Regions from separate parts of the Homo sapiens genome. Here regions 1 and 2 are each linked to region 3. The links are contacts of gene promoters, found by promoter capture Hi-C in human tissues and cell types (Jung and others, 2019). All regions are on one chromosome and are shown on one strand. Each heading gives the region's core, a stretch centred on a gene start or on the middle of the fragment in contact. The rest is flanking DNA. Distances are from core to core; before and after follow the strand shown.

Evidence for each region. Contacts are between HindIII fragments. The study calls those that stand out against the background at their distance.
Region 1: a contact is called between a fragment that was not itself captured here and the fragment with the promoter of SDF2 in region 3, in 2 of the 25 tissues and cell types used here (hippocampus and lymphoblastoid cells).
Region 2: a fragment that was not itself captured here is called in contact with the fragment with the promoter of SDF2 in region 3 in 1 of the 25 tissues and cell types used here (liver).

What each region holds. Positions count from the first base shown.
Region 1 is chr17:28,939,564-28,942,263 of GRCh38, forward strand. The region is part of intron 2 of PHF12 (PHD finger protein 12); the gene reads right to left. All of the region lies in intron 1 of LOC101927018 (a long non-coding RNA gene), which reads left to right. Among named protein-coding and RNA genes, the nearest start is that of PHF12, 11 kb to the right of the region's middle. The HindIII fragment of the contact is 9,881 bases long and covers 1-2,700 here.
Region 2 is chr17:28,960,090-28,962,789 of GRCh38, forward strand. It overlaps SEZ6 (seizure related 6 homolog), which reads right to left. Exons shown (of 17, transcript NM_178860.5): 6 at 716-884; 7 at 416-582. The region is part of intron 1 of LOC105371716 (a long non-coding RNA gene); the gene reads left to right. Among named protein-coding and RNA genes, the nearest start is that of PHF12, 9.9 kb to the left of the region's middle. The HindIII fragment of the contact is 4,967 bases long and covers 1-2,700 here.
Region 3 is chr17:28,660,499-28,663,198 of GRCh38, forward strand. It overlaps SDF2 (stromal cell derived factor 2), which reads right to left and starts at 1,408. Exons shown (of 3, transcript NM_006923.4): 1 at 1,228-1,408. The coding sequence starts at 1,378. SUPT6H (SPT6 homolog, histone chaperone and transcription elongation factor) reads left to right here and starts at 1,707. Exons shown (of 37, transcript NM_003170.5): 1 at 1,707-1,844. RefSeq lists enhancers at 1,095-2,294, 1,656-1,725, 1,823-2,497. The HindIII fragment of the contact is 8,142 bases long and covers 1-2,700 here.

The sequences.
Region 1 (2,700 bases), core at 57-2,556, 280 kb after region 3:
CTGATCACAGGAGCCTAGGGGTAGTGGAAAGAAAAGCAAGAGTAGGTCATCATTGCCTTATTTCATAATGCAGAGGCTTCTTTAAATTCACTTGAAGCTCTGTGCATTTCATTAGTTTCTCTGCTCTGTTCTCTGCACAAATGCAGACAGGAGAAAAATAATATTCAACATCCCTCTGAGGACCATAGCTGAGTAAAAAAGATGCTTGTGCTGCCACAAACAGGGGTCCACCTGGAACTCAAGCTTGCTAGTAATTCTGAGAGGTTCCCCTATCCCTGCCTGGCTTGGAGGTAAAGTGATGTCTTTGGGCTACCGTTAAATTCAAACCCTGCAGAGAGTCCTCTTTTGCTCACTCAAGCTTATTTCAAAACGAGCCTCACGCAGAGAGCCCAGATCAGTAGGAAAGACTGACGCTACATTCAGGCACGGAGTTGCTCCCTGCCCTGCTGTTACTCTGTATGTCTTTTGTCCTGTCAAGGCTGAGAAACATTTCTTGGGAGATATCCCATAAAATTTGTCAGAAAACAGGGGAGAGGCAAAAATTAAACACCAAAGTCACTAACTTAAAAGAAAGCAAATGTAATTAGGGGAAAAGAAATTTTCACCTTGTGTCTGTGTTAACAAAGGTATCATCCACTTGGAATAACCCAGATATCATTTTTGTTCCCCAACTACTGTTTACCTTTGCATGTCTCTCATCTGTAATACCACTAGGAATTACACGGCAGTGAGAAGAGGAAATGGGTCAGCCTCCGGCTTTTAAGTAGTTTAGTGAGCATTTATGTAGTACGATTGTAGCAAAAGGGAAAGTAGGCAGCAGAGCAAAAGGGACTCACTCTCTGAGTGAGCAAGTCAAGTTTTTCATTACTTTGAAAATTGCATCAATCTGCAAGGTGCACATGTAATTTACTTATTGTGAATTCCACAACAGCTCTATGTAGTAGTCAAGTTCCTTCCTGCTGATGGGTCAACTCATGGATTCCTCCTTTTATTAGTGTCTATTGTATGCCTCAGCTTTTGCCTCACACAAAATGTGCTAAAACCTCATCTTTGTTCTTATTTGCTGAGACTTAGGTTTAGGAATAACCTTAGGCTTAAAGGATAAGGATTTTGATATCTGGAAATGGCAGGCAGAAAAAGGAGTCACATTCTCATTCTTCTTAACTGCTCTCAAGTCCTGGGAAAAGCAGTCAGCTAGTGACCTGTGCATGCGTCCTGGGCATGGTGACAAATCTGCAATACCAAAGTGGCTTTCTGAAATTTGGTCTAGGACTTGCACTGAATACAATGTCCTCCTCTTTCAGGAAACTGGCAGGGGTACAGCCGTGCTCCTGTCCTGTATTCTCTTGGGAGGCACGCATTATGCAGAGGTTCTCTTCTAAGTGTCACTCATTGAATGGCAATGCAGCTGGCCATGTTGTACTCCCTGGGGCCTCTAAGTCAAAGGAGGAGCCCAGTGGAGGGGGGAAAACAGACTTTTTTTTTTTTTTTTTTCCTGTTCTGGTGACTTAAAACGCTGGACCTTAAAACTTGAATGCATTTCCAGGAGCTTGTGCTGCATTAATATATAAGGGCTACCATAAACCCAAACGGAATCTTTTATCAGGGTGGCCTACTTAACTGCATACCCAAGGAATTGTCCCTGTGTTGGGGTTGGGACAAGAAAGTTGAGAGATGGATTTCAGTATGCTTACCCATTATCAAAAGCCCAGAGTATTAATCTATTTTCTATTACTCTTCTTGTGGGAGAAAAGATGTACCCATTTCTGTTCAAGAAGCAGGACAGCTGCATTTTTAGGTAGCAAAAATCCTCTTGGGAGGATCAAAGCAGATGGTTTCTTTTTATGAGCCATATAAAACTGTCCAGTAAATATTCTCTGCGCTCTCTTTATTTACTGTTATCTGGGCTTATATAAAGATACAAATACACAGGTGAGTTTGCTGTAATATACAAACAACTTTTTGTTCTTGTTAACTGGGCTCAAAAGACAGCACATTTTAATTGACCTGAAGTTATTTCCACCACAACCAATAAAACTGAGACAATTAAAATCTTTTTTTTTTGAGATGGAGTTTCACTCTTGGTGCCCAGGCTAGAGTGCAATGGCGTGATCACTGCAACCTCCACCTCCCGGGTTCAAGCGATTCTCCTGCCTCAGCCTCCCAAGTACTTGGGACTCCCAAGTAGCGTGCATCACCACGCCCAGCTAATTTTGTATTTTTAGTAGAGATGGGGTTTCACCATGTTGGTCAGGCTGGTCTCGAACTCCTGACCTCAAGTGATCCACCTGCCTCGGCTCCCCAAAGTGCTGGGATTACAGGTGTGAGCCACTGCCCTCAGCCAACATCTTCTTTCTTAAACTAGGGTCCTCCAAGTATGAGAAGTGCTCAAACACAGACATTTTCTGTTGTGGCTAGTGGGTGACAGGTGAGCATCCTATCTAAAGGCAGATGGTGGATTTTTTGTACTTCCTCTAAGGCAACAATACAGCTTTAGACTTCTTTGCTAGGAAAGGACATGCAGAAAAGTTGAAACAACAACATACCAAATCACATCGTAAGGTTCTCTTCACTGGGATGTACCATCCTAACTGGAGCTCACGGAAGAAACTCTTAATTTACTGACATTACAGAGCTAATATAGGCATAGATATTAAAGTGTGCTTAAATCAACCATCTTTTGCTAGGTTAAGACTAAAA
Region 2 (2,700 bases), core at 74-2,573, 300 kb after region 3:
TTGATTACCATCCTGTTCCCACTGCCTGGTTTTGTGCTTAGTACACAGAAGGTACTCCATACATGTTTTTTGAATGAATTAATCAATGCATGCATGCATAAATGGTTCTAGAATGTCTCTTACAGCAATTCTTTCTTAAGGGTTGAGGCCTTTTTTGCTTTTCAAAATCTGGAGAATTTATTCCCTTGGACCATAGGGCCTGGGTCCAGGCAGAGGTTTCCTGCAAAGCTGTGGTAGGGATCCCGGACCCAAAGAGAGGGGCAGGGAAAGGGGGCCTAAGTACTGAGTGAGCAGGGGCTGACTTGGAAGGAGTGACAGCATGGAGGCAGAGAGGGGTAGGGTGTGGGAGAAAGACCCTAGGCCCGAGCCCATCCCCGTGGACCCGCCACCCCCAGTGAGGCCCCAGCAGGCTCACCCTCATAGCGCAGGGCCATGCCTGCAGCTGCCCCGCTGCTGTCAGTACTGAGCTCAACAAAGAAGTGTTTGCCAGAGCTGAGCAGGCCCTCAATGGGCAGGTATTCCACCTCATAGGAATCATACACTGGTGGGGCCTCCACGTTGTCCCCATTGCGAATGATGAGCCTGAACCAGGAGAGTGGCAGCTATGTAGGCTGGTGGCTGACCCAGATGGGGTGTGGCCCCAGGCTTGGGTAGCGTCCCTCCAGCAGGGTATTACCAGGCCAGGCACTCCCATTCCACTAGGACAGCCCCTCACCTGTCATCATCCTCTGCCAGGGAAACCTTCTCAAAGTGCAGGTGTAGCCGCTGGCCCTCAGGAGCCTCAAGCAGCCAGTGACAGGTGAGGTTGTTGCTGTAGTTGCCCGGGAAGCCTGGAGAGACGATGCGGCCGGTGGTGGCATTGCGGATCACTCCGCCGCAAGCAGCTGTTAAGACCAGGACAGGACGTAGGCTAGGCCCCTGCCTGAACCCAGGCAGCCTAACATGCCTTCCTCCCTATCCCAGCCCTATATCCTCTGCTTGGAGCAGCGGGGACCTTGCCTCCCTGCCATCTTGGCCCTCATCGTCCTGAAGGTCAACCTTTTAGCCCTGTGAACCTGCATCTCCAGGCAGCCTGAGCTCCAGAATCCTGCCGCCTAACCTTTCACACCCCTGGGACTGACCAGGGTAACTCTCTTGACTGTGGGTAGATGTATCACTGCCTGGTTGTGTGCCCAGGTAAGTCACTTTCCCTCTCTGCTGACTTCTCTAGAAGGCCGACTCTCCCTAGGTAGACTTTACTAAAGCCCTTACTGTGGGCTTCAACCTTCTTGGATACATCTGCTACTTCTACCTCATGCCACTTTCCTAAAATCAGTTGTTTGGGTATGTCCCTTAACTAGGACCCCCTGGAGCAGGAACCAGGTCTTTCCAGGCCAGGCACAGAGTTGGTGTTCAGCGTTGGTTGAATAAAATGAGTGAATGAATGTAAAAAGGGGTTAGCACTAGATCCGGGCGGCAAACACCTGATGTGCATGCCATCCGCCCCGGCCTCACTACCACTGCCGTTCCTGGGCTGACTGACCTTTCTAGTGCTGACCCTACTGGCTTGGGGCTGTCCTCTCTTTCTAAGGAGAGACTGAACAGTTTGCCTATGGCTATCTGTGAGGATTGCTGGGTTACTTGGCCACAAACTCCTGGCGGTTATGTGAGGCCAGAGAGGGGTCCTCAGGCAAGAGGAGTATGGCTGGTTCCAGGCAGTGCTTTCCTCTCCTGGACACATAGCTCTGACCTACCCAACTCTCAGAGACCAGGCTGCCATGACCAATACACAGGACCTTTGTCTCCAAATGCTCAAGGCAGCAGAATATTGTAACCTAGTAAAGCTCCTGGGGGGCTGGGGCAAGTTTCTTCTCTGCAGAAAGGACAGACCTGCCTCAGCTTGGTCTCAGAATGGAACTGCCCTTCAAATCTGATCATGCCCCATCCTTTGCTGAAAATTGCTTAGTGGCTCCCCATTACCCTCAGGATAGAGTTAAAGCTGAAAATGGTGTTCAAGCCCTTTATGAATCCACCTCTCTCTAGACTCAGCTTCAGTCCCCTCTCCCCGCATACCCTCTGCTTCAGGCACACTTCACTGTGTGCTCACTATCTTGTGCTATTTCATGCCTGCACATCTCTGCATATGCAGTTCCAGGAACCCACCCCACTTTCCCAAACTAATATTTCTGAAATCCTTCCATGCTGTCTCCTTGGGAAGCCTTGCTTGCCTCCTCTCTCATCTTGGAGTAGCTCTCCATCCCTTGGGCTCCTCCACCACTCTGCCTTTACTCCTATTGTAGCATCCTCTGCACTGAGCTGCTTGCCAGCCTCCCCGCTAGATCCTCGAGGGCTGAGAAAGCATCTGTGTTATTCAACTCTGGTTGTGCCTGGCACCCAGGAAGAATTTATAGAATGAAATAAGATTCATGGCTGGGTATGGTGGCTCAAGTCTGTAATCCCAGCACTTTGGGAGGCCGAGGCAGGTGGATCACCTGAGGTCAAGAGTTCGAGATCAGACTGGCCAACATGGTGAAACCCCATCTCTACTAAAAATACAAAAAAATTAGCTGGGTATGGTGGCATGCACCTGTAACCCCAGCTACTCTGGAGGGTGAGGCAGAAGAATCGCTTGAACCCGGGAGGTGGAGGTTGCAGTGAGCGGACATCGTGCCACTGCACTCCAGCCTGGGTGACAGAGGGAGACTCCATCTCAAAAAAAAA
Region 3 (2,700 bases), core at 158-2,657:
GGTTCCCAAATCTGGCTGTCCATCAGAACCACCTGAAGAGCTTTTTAAACCTACAGATTGCTACTGCCAAGCCTCTGTCCACCTCCACTCTAATTCAGTAGATCCAAAGTAGGAAACCAAAACAAAGTAAAAAATAAGCCTGACAACATGGTAGGTGTTCACTGAATGGGTGCTAGAATTATTAAGACATCGCAGTGATGATAACTCATGTCCTTGCCTAGTCTGACTGATCAGATGGGTTTTGGGAATCATGAACCAGACTAGCCCACCTGACAGAACTCTTTCCTCCCTCAGCAAACAGCATCATCAGTCATTCAAGACAAAAATCTACCAGCTATCTTAGATGCCTCTCACATCTCACTAGCTGACCTTCATTCTTTTTTTTTAACTTTATCTTTTTTTTTCAGGCAGATAAGACTTTCTTTTTTTAGTCTGTTTTTATTATATTGTAATTTTCTTGACTGATTATCACCACCGAATCTCCTGTATGTAGTACAATTCTAGCCATGTAGTAGGAACTCATTAAGACCTATGCTGAATGAATCCACAAATAATTTATTACTAAACATTTTAATTTCAAACGCTAAAAAAAAAAAAAAAAAAAAGCAGTTTTCTCTGCAATTCCTGTCACTGCTCCAAGTTTCTTACAAGAAGGAGGTTAAGGTTTGGGTAGAAGGGGGCCAAAGATGGAAACTGAGGAGCAAGTGTAAGATGCAGAAGAGCTGGAAGACAAAGGGTTGTAGTCAACGAGTGAGCTCTTGGAGTTTAAAGTTTCACAGACAGTACTTACTGTAACTTTAAAATTTCAGACACAGCACTTACTGTAATTTTCTTGTCTCTAAAGCAGGCTTTGAACCTGGATAGATTTGGATAGAACCCCGACTTTGTCATTTGCTAACTGCAAGGCTTTGAATAAACGATTTAATTTCTCTGCGTCTGTTTCCTCATCTGTGAAATGAGGATAACAATACTGTCCACCTTACAACAATGTTAATAATCGGAAAAAGGACATAGGTAACGTGCCTGGCCTGTAGCTCACCAAATATTAGGTGGTGTTGCGATTAAGATGCCTTAGAACAATTCAGTTCTCCGACTCTCTAGACCTGAGGAACCTTCCCAGGGAACCCCTAACTTTCCCAGACCACACTGTCAGATATTCTATAGGCCCCGCCCCTCCAGAGCCTCCGAGTCCTCCCTAGCCCACCCGAGCCCGGTCCCCAGCATTACCTGACCCATAGCGCACGTCGTGTGAGTGCAGTCGGACGTTGTGGCGCGTATTGAGTAGCTTCACCACGGAGCCGCAAGTAACGACACCCAGGCTGGACGCTCCCACAGCGCTCCACAAACCCCCCAACAACAGCAGAGGTACTACAGCCATCCTAACTGTATCGCGGAGCCCCAAATCTTCGAAGAAAACTCGGCCCCTCCCCGGAACCGGAAGCTAATGGCGAAACCACGGAGAGAAGGAAGTGAAGAAGCCCGAGTCTGATCTTTATGGTTTATTTGACTAGAGCGGCCTGAGAAACCGGCTGAGCCTGGTTACTTACGATACTCTCGCTCTGTTCCAGGGGCTCAGTGACAGCTGCCTTCCTGAGCCGCTTCGGTTACCTTTCGCACCCACGAGACGAAAGCTTCCGAGAGCGGGAGAGAGAACAAGAAATGGCCCGCCCACTCCCGGTGACAGGGAGCCGGAAATGACGTAGCACGTTGACGCAGCAGCGGCGGCGGTGGCGGCGGAGGGGCCGTGCGGTGGGTCCGTACTATCTTTTCCCAGTCTCGGTTCGACGACTCCATTTTCCTCGGTGGGGGCTTAGCGCACTGGAGGAGCGGCGGGCTTCAGACAGGTAAAGTTCCGACTGGAGAGCGTGTTTCTCGCAGGAGTCAGGTGGGGAACCGGGCTCCTAGGGCCTGGTCACGTAAGGGAAGAGGCAGTGGGGAGCCGTATGCGGGAAGAAGGGGGAGCCTGGCCTTCCCTGCTCTATGGGGGGAAGGGGGAGGAAAGCGCTGTAGTTGCTCAGAGTCCGAAAGCTTTTCCCAGCCCAGTGACACCCGGAACCCGTGAATCGGGTGGCACGTTGAATCAACAGGCTTCCTGGCATCCCGTCCTTCTCTCCGCAGGTTTTTAAAACTGGGCCACGCAAAAGGATTGGGGATGGAAGGGACCTGGGGCTTCTGAGCCAGGATCAGGTGATCGAGTTGTTTGTTCTGGGGATATGAATCCTGTGGAGCTTTCAGCAGCTCGGCCATCAGGCTAGAGGGCGATGCCAAATTCCAGCTCTTTACATATTGCTGAATAATACAAATAGAACTTTTTGTAGATGGTTGCATCCTTCATCCCTTTCTAAAGATCGAAGGTCTTGTAGAAGTCCTAAAGCCCGTCCATTCTCTATAGATTCATTTCCTCAAACGTTTGCCAGAGGCCTATCATGAACATCAAAATTAGTTATTAAGTCAAAACTCCATCTTCTAGTTTCTACCTTTCTCCTCAGGCACTCCTTTGAACCAGCTGGAGAAGTTAATTTTCCTGGGTTGTTGCAAGAACTGATACTTATTTCAGAGGGCTAAGATCTCTGAAAATACTTCCGTGGAAATTCACTGTAATATCAAAAGTAACAAGGGTGTATGAAGCTACATCATTAATGAGCATTAGGGAGTGTAAACAATATTGAATTTGATTAATTTCTTCGGAAAAATGTCTGG